Regions from separate parts of the Homo sapiens genome. Here region 2 is linked to region 1. The links are contacts of gene promoters, found by promoter capture Hi-C in blood cells and fetal thymus (Javierre and others, 2016). All regions are on one chromosome and are shown on one strand. Each heading gives the region's core, a stretch centred on a gene start or on the middle of the fragment in contact. The rest is flanking DNA. Distances are from core to core; before and after follow the strand shown. Region 1 holds the start of CNTF (ciliary neurotrophic factor). Region 2 has its middle 37 kb from the start of GLYATL1.

Region 1 (6,358 bases), core at 1,355-3,854:
CATGGATGCATCTTCCAACACCCTGTGACAAAGAGGTGCAGTGATTCATGATCAAGCCTCTAAAGTGAAAGGCACATAGGCTTTTACAAGGAGAATGATCTGTGTTCAAACTCAGTGTGCTACTTGTTAGCTGTGTGAGCTTAACCAAATCTCTGTGAGCCTGTTTTCTCATCTACCTAATGGGAGTAACACCACCTTGCTCACAAGGTTGTAAACGCTGTACATAATATACATAAAGACCCTTGGCATACTGCCTTAATATAGAAGATAATAAAAGTTAGCCATTATTATTCTTATTCTCTAAGAGTTTAAATCAACTAAAGAGTCTGATTTTAAATTGAATCTTCTCAGACCGAGTCATCCAGGACTAGAATTAACATATGTATATTCTGTCTGTAAGGCAGTTAAATGCCTGTAGAGGTTACTTAGTGGGTTAGAAAGGTTAGAACCCTGAAGTGGAAGGACGTTGTCCCTGCTCCCACTCTCTTACACCTGCAGCACATGCAAGCACGCACACAAATCACACCCCCCAGGCTAAACTTGTATGCCCATTTGTGTATGTCTCCAACGCTACTTGATGAAAATACCTGTAGTCCTTCAACAGGCTGCAGGTGGTCAGAGAAAAAAGAAAGAAAATGCCTGTTGTCTTAACTGTTTTTAGAAATTTAAGATGGGAAAGCGAGGCCCCAGGGAACTACGCATATTCCATTAGAAGAGAAAGCAAGGAAGAGAGAAGGGACTAACTGCTACATTTTCTTGTTGTTAGCAATATAATGGCTCCCACGTGCTGGGATCCCAGTCTGATGAGAAGAAATGAAACGAAGGTCATGGATGGACCTTACTGTCCACTGTGAAAGCTCCTGCAGCACCTTTAGGCCCCACAGCTTCTTCTCAAAGAGACCACCATCTCCAACATTAATAGGCATCCCATCAGCCTCATTGCGGGGGATCTTGTATTCCAGGAGTATCATTAACTCCTCTATCTGGTATGCAAAGGCAGCGACTTGGAGAAGAAGGGTATGTATAGCTTGATGGAAGTCACCTTCGGTTGGGGTAAAATGCACCTGCTGGTCTTCTAAGAGCCTGGCCAACAAAACATGGAAGGTACGATAAGCTTGAAGGTTCTCTTGGAGTCGCTCTGCCTCGGTCAGCTCACTCCACTGATCAGTGCTTGCCACTGGCATCCCATCCGCAGAGTCCAGGTTGATGTTCTTGTTCAGGCCCTGATGCTTCACCTGGCCGAGGATACAGGAAAACACCACATCTTCTGTCATCACCCCAGTGTCCTTAAATCACCCCTAAATTTCATACAAAATCTCACTCATCTCTCTGGCCAAGGATCCAAGTTGTAAAGTAAATAATATGTCTACAGTAGGAACTCTTAATTTGGGCTCTATGACTGGACTTTAGAAAGACCCAATACTGCCTGAAATTGACTACCTATGGATTTTTCTTAGAAGAATGTTCAGATTTTATTGAGTTCTAAAGGTTGAAAACTGATTTAGAAGAATTTTTCCTTCTCACTTCAAACTCTCTCATTAACTGGAATATTTTAATCATATTAAAGTATTTTTAAACATACTTGTAAAAGACACTGGCCACAACTAGGAAAACTTGGAATATAGCCATTGTAGAATTTCTCTAACTTCCCTCTCCCCATTGAGCACTCCCAAAGAGTCTGATTTCTGTCTGGTGAGGCTGTACAAAGATAAATCAGTTCTCAGCCTAAATTCAAAACTCTCCACAGGGGTTGGAGTATTTCCACAGCATATCTCAGGTGGAAATTGATGGGGATCCCCTTACTGTTAGAAGACAAATCTGGAACTCCAGAATTAGCTCAAGAATTTGACACTTCCACAAGTTTCCAATGAATCTTCTAGGAGATCCTTTTGATAGCTTACCTTTCTCTTTAGACACAATCTACTTTTGATGCAGAATACTAAAAGGTGGGTGGCTAATGCTATATAGGAGAAATTGGTAGGATTTACAAATTCCTCCCACGTTCATAGTACTCTTCCTATCCCATAAACCTTTCATTTACATAGCTAAAAAATTCAGAACAATGGCTATGAAGAACCCAGAGGGCCCATGGCTAATCTGTTCTAGTAGTATTCAGAATATATGCCAATAAATTTGGAATAGCCTCCAAGACATATAAACCAATCCTTTCTAGAACTCCATATATATTTTCTCATTCAAGTAACTTCATCTCCTAAACAGCCCAGAGGAAGAAAATAAAGTCACATGGGTTTCCTCAAGGGAAGGGCCCATGTCAAATAACCTATATGAATGACTATATGATTAGAGCTTTCACAATTGGTAATGGAGCTGATGCGTGATGGTAAGTTGCTGGATCAAAAAAGATGAAGGGAAAACAGATAACAGCAAAATAGGCAACTTACATAGGATTCCGTAAGAGCAGTCAGGTCTGAACGAATCTTCCTTGCTAGCCAGATAGAGCGGCTACAGAGGTCCCGACGGTGAGGGGTCAGCGGTGAATGCTCTGTGAAAGCCATCCCTTAACTCAACTGTCCCAGGAAACAAGTCAGCTGGGTTTACTTCTGTCTATACTGGTCCAAATAAGAGATGTGACTCTCAAAGACTAAACCCACTGGGCATTCTCTACTAATGGGATTGTGCACCCCACCCCCACGCCCTGCCTGACTCAGAGGAGGTAGCAAATTCCTGGCTGTGGATTTTTGTGCCTGTGGAATCAAAGGGCCCTTTTTAATCAGATTTTTTTTCCCCTGCAGCGTCTGCCTCCATCTCTCTCCTCCACTCAGTACTTAGCACACTTGTTTCTATGTCATTGTTTTGCTTTTGCACTTAGCAACAAGGTCACTATCATACCAATCCTCATGGCACCCCTGCCTAATGTAATCTATCTCACACACTTAGAATTAGTTCATTTTATTATCATTCTCCCTTATGCTTCCCATGTCTTTTTTCTCATAGGCTGGCGAAATGTTCATTCAATAAAATTGTTATTGACACAGCTGCCATTTATTAAGTATCTACCATGGGTCAGTCAGTAAGCTAAATACTTTAAAGCAATTCCATTTGATCTTCAGAATATTTCTGAGGTAAATGTTATTTCTCCATATAAGAAACTGAAACTTCAAGAAATAACATGCACAAAATCAAGTAACGAGGCTTGAATTTAAATAGAAGTCTGATTCTATAGTTGTCTCTCCCACTGACTTTCCAATTTCATTTTCTGTTTAGGTAGTTCACATCTTGTTCAAGAAACAAAGGGTGTGTGAAGTCCTTTAAAAACAGGATTTTTTTCACTCCTAACCTTACGTACTTTTTAAAGGTAATTTAATTTATACTTAAAAATCAAGCAAGGAAGCATCTCTAATTTCAATCACGGTGCCTTCCTGGTAGCTACATAGGAGGAGGAAGGTACTGTTTAGGCCTGTTCTCTTCCAAAGAACAGGAAACACCCAACGCTAACTTGGTAACATTTCTAAAGCAGTCTCACTCAAGTGACAACATGCTTTCCTTTTTTCTCCCCTACCCAGTCATACCACATGCTTCTTAAAATAAGAGAATGAGCTGGGCTTTGAAATGACAGTATAAAAGTTAAAAGGTACTTGGAGGGTTGTCATTCTATTGCATTTAACTTAGAAAATGATGCTTATTGGGTAAGGGCTAAATGAAATAATTAGCTTTCATTATTTATATCATAGATATTGCCAATAAGCTGAAACACATACCATCTTAGAAGCAAATTTATAAAAGTAAACAATAAATGGGAGATGTAACAGAGCAGCCTGGGCAGCTATCACAGCATGGCTTTTGGAAGGCAGAAGGATTATAGTTTTTTCTTTTTTAAAATAAAAATCAGTACTTGATATAAACATTCAATTTTGAGAAGAAGTATTAATATTAAATGCTATCAAGGTTTTGTCATTATCAGGGTAAAATTAACCTCACATAATCCTTAATTTTCCATCTACTAGGTTAATTAACATATGGCCAGTTTTCCTAGGAGGCAGTTGTCAAAACATCAAGATTTCCAAGTTTGCTGAATAACAGAATCATGTCATTTCAGCATTAGAAATCAAGAACAGTCAAAAATTAACCACCTGATTCTCAACAAAAGCAAACAATAGTATGCCCCACATAACACCTGTTCTGAGGGCATTTGGTTTGCTTAGCAGCATCACATGTTTCACCCCTAGGATAACTGTAACTCAGTACAACCAAGGAAGACAAGTTGCTTCCATGAAGACAACTTTTATTTTTCTTCTTTACATATTTATTTTTAATATGCCTTACCTAGAATAAGAGAAAACAAAGATTTGAAAAGCAAAGTATCCCTTTTATTATAATTTCTTTTTACATAACCTTTTCAACCTATATTCAGGTAACTACCTGTCTCTCCCATGAAAGGAGAAGGGTCCTGCACATTACAACAGGCAAAAAAGGCTTTTAAGAAATAAAATATTTTAAATTGATCCATTACATTTGTTCAATTTTCTTGAGTACATTGGAAAGTGGGAAAAACACAAAAGGAGAAAAAAATGGTATTTCAAACAACCAGACTATAATAATCTTAGTTAGATTGGTAGTACACTCATTATACTTTTTCCCCAAACAGGTACAAAGGAGGTTCAAGTGCTCTATGTGGATGCTAGTCTATACCTCGATATTTTTATTTTACTCCCAGTACTCCCACGGCCATGGCCAGTGTTTGCCTAAATTCTCTGAAGCATATCAAGGAGTCTCAGTTACGCAAAACAACCTTGGGCAACCACAAAGAAGAGGGATGCACATCTCCCAGAAATATTAAATAGCTGTATCTCAACTACAGTTTCAGAATTTAGAACCACCAATTCAAGATGGAAATATGCAGTGGGAAGAGTTATTAAAAAGGTAACAGAATTTGACTAAGAGCATGAAATGTAGAACTTTAAGATTAAAAGAGCTCCCTGGAAGGACAATGAGGCATATGGAGCAGAAGGGAAAGCAGGGAAACGGCTGAGATAGTTTAATTACACCAACTCTACTATGCAGCATCCCTTTATCAAAAGGAAAAATATAAAGTCTATAAAAAATATTTTAGTATTGCAAACTGCTGCAATAATTTATTGTAGGCAAATGGTAGCTATAAAGAGGGTCCTTGACCCCTAAAAGAAAAGAAAAAGTACAGCAAGTTTCTAATTAGTAGAACTAACTAGTTGTTTTTTTGTTGGGAGAGCGGTATAGGAAAGGAGAATACATTTTCTCCCATCTCAGAAAGATTTTTAAAAATGCAGTTTGCTTTTGTGTAGGTGGCTAAAATATCTGATGACTAACCACTGCAAATGAAATTTACGGAGACAAAGGATAAGTGTGACAAAAAAGCTAAGTGTGGAATATAGATGCTAGTTAGTCAAAAAGTGTAAAAGGGACCTGAGAGGAGGACAACTTTTTTGTAGATTCATCTAATCAATCTTGTATTTTCAAATCTAGTCAATATACCAAAGTCGACTCCAAACCATGTTGGCAGGAAAGCATATTCTACATCCCTTCTATCTTTATTCCATTTTCTATCCCCATATTATGGAGAAATGGCAAATCTGCAACACTCTGAAAAGAAACAATAGCGCATTTGAGACTGGTGATTGTAGGTGTCTCACTCTCTGTTCCCTGGCATCCCAAATGCTGACACTAGTTGGTATAAAGTAAGCCTCTTTCAGAAATGACATTTTGTTACTCCTCTTTTTGGGAAAAAAGAATTCTTTGAAAAAATTGATAAGCCATGTTTGTGAAACACAAACTGTTCTTTTTTTTTTTTCCAGCAAAACGTCATTCTTTCCAAGAGCCATCATGCATTTCTGACAATAAACAATGAATAGGGTAAGCCTTCGATTCTAGCTTCTGAGGCACACAGGATAGGAATTACTCTTTACCTGAAGATGAGCCAAAATAGGATTTGGGGCTTCTGGCGGTATGACCTTGTACAAAAACACTACCTTTTCTCTCCAGTGAACAGCAATAAGCAATCTATTCCCCAACACAACCTCTATCCCAAGGAAATTGTGATGCCCAGAATTTTAGGTGAAAGCCAAAGCAATTATTATATAGGATTATTAACTTTGGCTATTGAAGTTTTTCCTCTTCAGAAGTGTTACTAAAGGGGAAACAGAGCAGTTTTCTTTGACTTAAAATTTTAGGACTCATAGACTTTGTTCCTTCACTAACAGCAGTGTCCTTCACTAACAGGGAGCTGGAATGAACTGATAAAGCAAAGCAAGAAACAAAAAGCAAGGAGCCAGAGATGGGCCCCAAGGGAAATGTAAGGAAATGGTAGGGACAAAAAAAAAGGAAAAGAAACAAATTCACAAGAAACAATCATCTATCTGTAATT
Region 2 (6,358 bases), core at 2,556-5,055, 280 kb before region 1:
TGCAAGTCGCAGAGCAGGCTGCACCCGCGTCTGCGTGAGGTCTAGAGGGACTTGGCCTGCTCCGCAAATGATCCAACTTCGTGGAGGGGCTGGCGAACACAGACAATGCCAGTCTGGACGAGGAAGGGGCCAGCACTGCTTAGGCCTGTTTCCCAGGACGCGCATTACTGGGTGCGGAACTTTACCCCTCAGATGAAGAGTATTTAGGCCTGTTTCCCAGGAGGCGCATTACTGGGTGTGGAACTTTACCCTTCGGATGAAGACTCCAGAGTTGGGTATCTCCAAAGTGATAATCAAGTAAGTGCTTTGCATGGGGCTTGAGAAAACATCTTACTGTTTAAGAACAGAACGTCTTACTGTCTAAGAACATGAATAGAAGGAGATGCCTTCAGTATTGAGTGTTATTTTTGAGAAGTTGGTCAAAGAAGGGGAGAAGATGGTGGATTAATAGATGATGGTGAAAATTATTTTGTAACTCATAGAAGGACAGATGTTTATGTAAAAGTTGATAGTTTTGGTGGAATCATGAGCATGTTTCTGAACTTAATGTAAAATACACAGAGACTCCTGAAATCACTTAAATTACACGGGTCTTGTGGTGTTTGGAAAGAGCAAACTTTAGAAGTGTAATTGTAAAAATAATATCAAACAGAAACAGGGAAGAGAAAAACGTAAAGACAGCTTTCTCAAATCGCTGTTATTCTTGAATCATCTGAAAGCAGTGCACATGACTGGCACTAATATGCATCGGAGAGTAAATCATTGCACAAGGAGACTTGATCTTCTTTTCATTGTAGAATCTGGAGGAAAAAAGCTGTTAAAAGCAAGAGGTGGTAGAGAATAGTATTGTCGAAAGTTTCTGACATCACTGGAGATAGAGAATTTTCCCTGGAAAAAAGTGCTCCTTAGGGAGGAGCATCTGCACATTCCATTAGCATAAAGCACCTGGTCGGCCATATGAAGAAGTCTGGATTTTGTTATAAATATGAAATTTATTTTAAATGGAGGATTTGTAGCAAGGAGTAATATAACCTGACATATTTTTAAAAATCTCTCTGGCAGCTGCGTGGGGGACAAACTCTAGGAGGACAATAGGAGGTGTGGAAGGGAGAAGATGGCTAAGAGTATATCCCAGGATTGCAAAGATGTCGGAGCCCAGCCTCAGACGGTAATGGTGGAGGTGTTAGAAAATGCTGAATTCCACATTTATTTTGAAGGGCGAGCCCATGGAATTGGCTTGTGAATGGGGTTTTCCATAAATAAGAGAAAAAGAGAGCTCAATATGATTCTTGGGCTTTTGACTTGAGCAACTAGAAAGATAAAGTCTGCATTAAGTGATATGGGGAAGTCTGAGGAAGGAGATGCTGTGTGTGCCAGGAGTGATGAGTGTGTCAGTAATTCTACTTTTGATATATTGACTTGGAGATACTAATCCACTCCAACTGAAAAATAAGGAGAGAAGTGGACACTCAACACATGCGGGTGAATGCCCAGAGAGCCTTAAGAAGGGGCAAGAGGCTGAACTTGGGAGAGAAGAGCATAGATCAAAATAAAAGACACACAAAAGGAGAAAGAGAGGGAAACTAGGACTTATGATGGTAATGTTGGCCATTAACTGAGAATTATTTTATTTTATTTTATTTTGTTTTTTGAGACAGAGTCTTGTTTTATTGCCCAGGCTGGAGTGCAGTGTTACAATCTCAGTTCACTGTAAGCTCAACCTCCTGGGTTTAGGTGATTCTCATGCCTCAGCCTCCTGAGCAGCTGGTATTACAAGTGCCTGTCACCACGCCCGGATACTTTTTGTATTTTTAATAGAGATGGAGTTTCACCATGTTGGCAAGTCTGGGGTCGAACTCCTGACCTCAGGTGCTCTGCTTGCCTCAGCCTTCCAATGTGCTGTGGTTACAGATATGAGCCACTGCACCAGGCCTGAGAAATATAATTAAAGTACAGGGAAAATTAAAAGGGAGAAGAAAGTTCACAGAGAGAGATCATGGCAAATGATAAATACAAAATCCTGCCTTGTTTCCCAGATTCCCTGTGTCTTAGGTGCCCTGTATTTTACCTCCCCTTGAACCACTCTTGTCCCTTTGTAATGGTACTCCAAGCAGCACTGCTGTACACCAATTCCAGAGCTTCCCTGCTCCTTGAGCCTAGGAATAGCTATGCTTCTAATTCCTCTTCATTTGCTCATCATTGGAGTAACAGCTGAACCACACAATTGGAATAAGTAACCTGACGTCATTTTTAGTACCAATCTTCCATTTCTTCCTTAAGTATAAAAGTGACCCTCACAGAGAAACTAACTACCTAGAGCTATAGGTCCAGAGTAGAGCTCTAGCTTTGATTTTCCTTTTGCAGCTATGGTCTGAGAGCTTGGATGCAATCCACTGCAATTTGATATCAGTGACAGGGTAGGGATGCTCAGGGAATCTGTTGAGCCACCAAGGAAGCCTCACTTTCAGCTAATGCTTACATGGGGCTGTGGAAGTTGTCCAGCATCCCTGAGGACAGAGTGTTTGCCCTGAAAAAGAACATTCCCTTGGCAGAAAGCATCTTGTTGGCTGGATTTTATTATAAATGTGATGAGAATACTTTTGGCCAAGTAACTGGTCGTTGGGTCATTTTGTGGTAGTCAAACCCACAAAGAAGAAAAGCCCTCACATGGTCGGGTGAGGTGGGAATGGATCAAGCACTAAGGCCAGGTCTGGTGAAGTTAGGGAGTAAGGCCAGTGTTTATGGAAAGGGATTCCTTCATGAACCCCTAAAAGATGCTTCTAAACTCTAACAGTAGGCTGATGTCTGTATTTAGAGTTGCAAACAACATGTTCTGGGAATACAGAGGAAGGCACCACTGCCTCTACCTTGGGAGTATATCACAGAGAATGAGATTTATATTTGGACTTGATGGATGAGAGATGAGTAGGAGTTTGACAGAAGAAAAGAGTGGAACTGTCTGGATGTACAATGGCAGAAGTGGCAGGAAGGACTGAGGAGAATTGGCTTCTGGGGATGTGTCAGACATAAGGGCCTGGGCACCACATAATGGAGCTTGCAATGGGGTATGTGAAAGCTTAGATGAGATGGTTTTTTTCCTGTCCTCCTGTGGGTTCATAGTGGGCTCACCTCACTCACTCCTGCTAACAACCTGCCCCTATTGATAGATAGCTGAAATGGGGTCTCTAAGCCTCCAGCAACAGCTTAGGAGCCAGCCTTGAAGTACTGGCAGCTAACACTTCCCATATAGACCCCGTAGTCCATCCTATCTTAGGAAGACAATGCACTCATGGGGATGGTAACATCCACCTCCAGACTCCAGAGGCTCCAAGGAGCCTCTCTCTCTCTTCAAGTAAAGAAATATTCACTGAGCTGTGTGTAGAGGTTTACATGGTTTGGGACCAACATGTGGCTGGGTGACTTCACTTCCATCCTCATACAGTGGTACTCGGAGATGAATGGGGGGTAGAGTGATCAAGATTTAGTTCAATGTCTACCTCCAGTGGGGCAGTGCTTGGTAGTTGACTCATTTTGGTCTCTTTTGATGTTCACAGTCACCCATTGAGGTAGGTGTGACTGTTGATCCCATTTCACAGATTAGGACAGGATAATTTGCTAGAGGTCACAGGACTAGTTGGGGGAGGGAAAGGCTGTCAGGTAGGATTTTAACCTTAGAGCTTCACGTTTTCTTAGGATCTTGCAGGGAGACCTTGAGCAAATTCCTTTCCCTCTTGGTGGGGGTGGGGGAAGTCTCCATTCCCTAAGTATAAATTAAAGAGATCTGCCAGTTTGTGATTCTCTTTACTTTAAAGTTCAACCGTATCACTTGGATAGGTGTTTTGTTTGTTTGTTTGTTTGTTTTAATGGGGATTCTGGGAACCCAAATATATTTAAGTTCAATAGGTCTGGGGTGAGGCCCAGTAATCTGCAGCTTTTAACAAATCCGGACATCAACATAACTACCTGAGAAACTCAAGCAAAATGTATGATGCATGAAAATCTTATTGTGAGCTGGTCAAAACACATATCGCTGAGCTCCATCGGTAGAGATCCTGTTTTGATACCTTTGGTTGGACTGTGGCTCGGTAATTTGCATTTCTTAGAAGTGAGTCCGTTCAGCTGGTCAACCGCCCCGCCTGTCTCTCTGTGACCCTCCCAGGGCGTCAGCGGTGCTTTTTTACTTGCATCTTGTGGGAAAAGGATCCGCGCAGGCAGCCCCCTTTTAGCACCGTCCTGAGTACACAAGCCAAGCGCTTAAATACCTCACTCAGCCCTGGATTTGCAGTTACTCAGGGCAGGCGAAGGCGCGTTTCCGCGTTTGGTATATTCCCGCGTGCTGCCAGCTGATGGCGCCAGAGAACTAACCTACTGGAATAGGGAGGAGAAAAGAAGCAGGGAAGAAAAGCGGGAGGTGAAGATTAAGGCCAATGGTAGCTTCCGTTCTTGGACTCGAAGATTCCCTTAATGGGTTGACATCAATGAAAGCCAATGGTAGCTTCCATGAAAGCCAAAGCTGACCACCCCCCCAAGCTTCCCATTCTCTTAGGAGGCTGCATTTTGGGTGCTAAATGGAGGGATGGGCGTGGGAGATGCTGGGACATGTGTTGGCTGAAGATACACCTGTTAGTCCAAGGTTGCTTCGGCTCATAGTGGCTCAACCCTCTTTGTCAATTAACCTTCTCAGTTAACTAAGGCTGCCTCACCTGTCTTTAGGCAAACCTACCCCCCGTCACGCTGGGTTTTTAGAGTTTTTAAAAGCGTCACGGTGTAAGGCCAGCGTTGCTTTTCGTATTCTTAGCGGGTATTTCTGGTGCTGACAGCGGGGAGCTGCCGGGCGGGAGTAGGAGTGGAGAGAGAATAGGGAGAGAGATAACAGGTGTGAAGCGTCTCTCAATGCCAGGCATCCTGCTTTCGCACCTTCCATAGGTTTTTTCGCAATCGTCTTTCTATTTAATCATTTTCTGTTTCATAGATTAGGAAACCTCAACTAAGTTGCCCAAGGACAGCCCTTGAATAATTTTATCTTCTGTCAGACACCAAAGCCTAAGGTCTCTTATTTTGCAGAGGCTGCTTTGTCAGGATTTCAATGCATGCATGTCCTGCGAATCACTGCTCCTCACTCACTGATCCATCCTGCTGTCCACGCGTTCATTCACTCATTCATTTCTTAGGGGTCATCTACAAGGCATGGGGCTAGTTGCAACTAAAAATACAAAAGAAAAGGGACTCTGCTGTAAAGCAGAGGAGGTTTTTTTAAATGATTTACACAGAATTCCGGTGCTCCGCATGGTTTCGATCTCCCCCCACCCCCCAAAATACTACTGATACCTATTTTGTTCCACACAATTCGATGGACTCTGAAAATACAGAGAGGGGTGAAATCTATCCTTGCCTTTCAGGAGCTTATTGCCGTACGCAAGAGTAATCTCTGAGCTTTAATTTTACATACCAAATTTTTAACAAATTGAGCATCAACTATATATGTATGTGTGTGTATATATATATATTCTGTTGTAATTAACATGTTAAATAAATATTAGGCACACTTAATTTCTTATTTTTTAGATGAAGATGAATCTAAATGCTGGTTCAAGTATGTCCTTTGTTCACCCTAGTGGACCATCTTGGGTGATTCCTGGAGTGCTTTCTCAGACTGCAACCCTAACCCGCTGGTATGTGCTTGGCTCTGTTCCTTCTTTCTGCAGCTGTCTGTCAAATGCCAGTCTTTTGTGGAGGCCCGTCCTAACCCCTTCCTGTTTCCTCTCCTTTTTGTCTGCTCGTATCTGAGGCCTCTTTTCCTATTTATTTGTTGTTCTTTCTCCCTCCATCATCTTCTGTCGTCAAATCATGTGTTGTTTTTCATATACTACACCTGAGTTTATAGGAAATATGTTTACTGTTTTTGTTTTTTTAATTTTTGGTTTAGTTTCTGCCTCCCTGCTCCAGAATGTAAGCTTCAAGAGGGGCAGTGAGGAGTTCTTAACACCCCACACTGACTGAGAAACGGTTGGGAGTGGAGGGAGACAGCTTTGCCCTGTACATCCTGAAATCCCCTGAGGTGGGGGTGGGAGTGGAGGGAAGATCAGGGAATGTCCATTCATTTTATGAACTTGAAGTTGGGTTGAACCCTATTATATCCTGTGATGTTGGTTGTTAATCTCAACCTGAAGCCCTCATCGCTAGTCATCCACTTCTTATTAGCTTTGTGACCTTGAATGAAGGTTCAAGGTTACCTTCTTTCTTTGCACCTCAGTTTCCTTATGTATAAAATGGAAAAAATTAAATTTGGTCATCCTAAAATGTGGATTCATAGGGCATCAGTCCCCTGAGTGTAAAAGAAAAAATATTTGCGTATTTA

The links. The method cuts DNA at HindIII sites, captures the fragments that hold promoters and counts their contacts. A CHiCAGO score of 5 or more calls a contact.
Region 2: a fragment that was not itself captured here is called in contact with the fragment with the promoter of CNTF in region 1 in 1 of 17 cell types (megakaryocytes); the score reaches 5.2 in megakaryocytes.

What each region holds. Positions count from the first base shown.
Region 1 is chr11:58,618,911-58,625,268 of GRCh38, reverse strand. CNTF (ciliary neurotrophic factor) reads right to left here and starts at 2,604. Exons shown (of 2, transcript NM_000614.4): 1 at 2,403-2,604; 2 at 1-1,235. The coding sequence starts at 2,516. The coding sequence ends at 747. It overlaps ZFP91 (ZFP91 zinc finger protein, atypical E3 ubiquitin ligase), which reads right to left. Exons shown (of 11, transcript NM_053023.5): 11 at 3,719-6,358. ZFP91-CNTF (ZFP91-CNTF readthrough (NMD candidate)) reads right to left here. Exons shown (of 13, transcript NR_024091.1): 12 at 2,403-2,503; 13 at 1-1,235. The HindIII fragment of the contact is 9,454 bases long and covers 1,117-6,358 here.
Region 2 is chr11:58,898,966-58,905,323 of GRCh38, reverse strand. It overlaps a transcript of GLYATL2 not described here. Among named protein-coding and RNA genes, the nearest start is that of GLYATL1, 37 kb to the left of the region's middle. The HindIII fragment of the contact is 1,454 bases long and covers 3,079-4,532 here.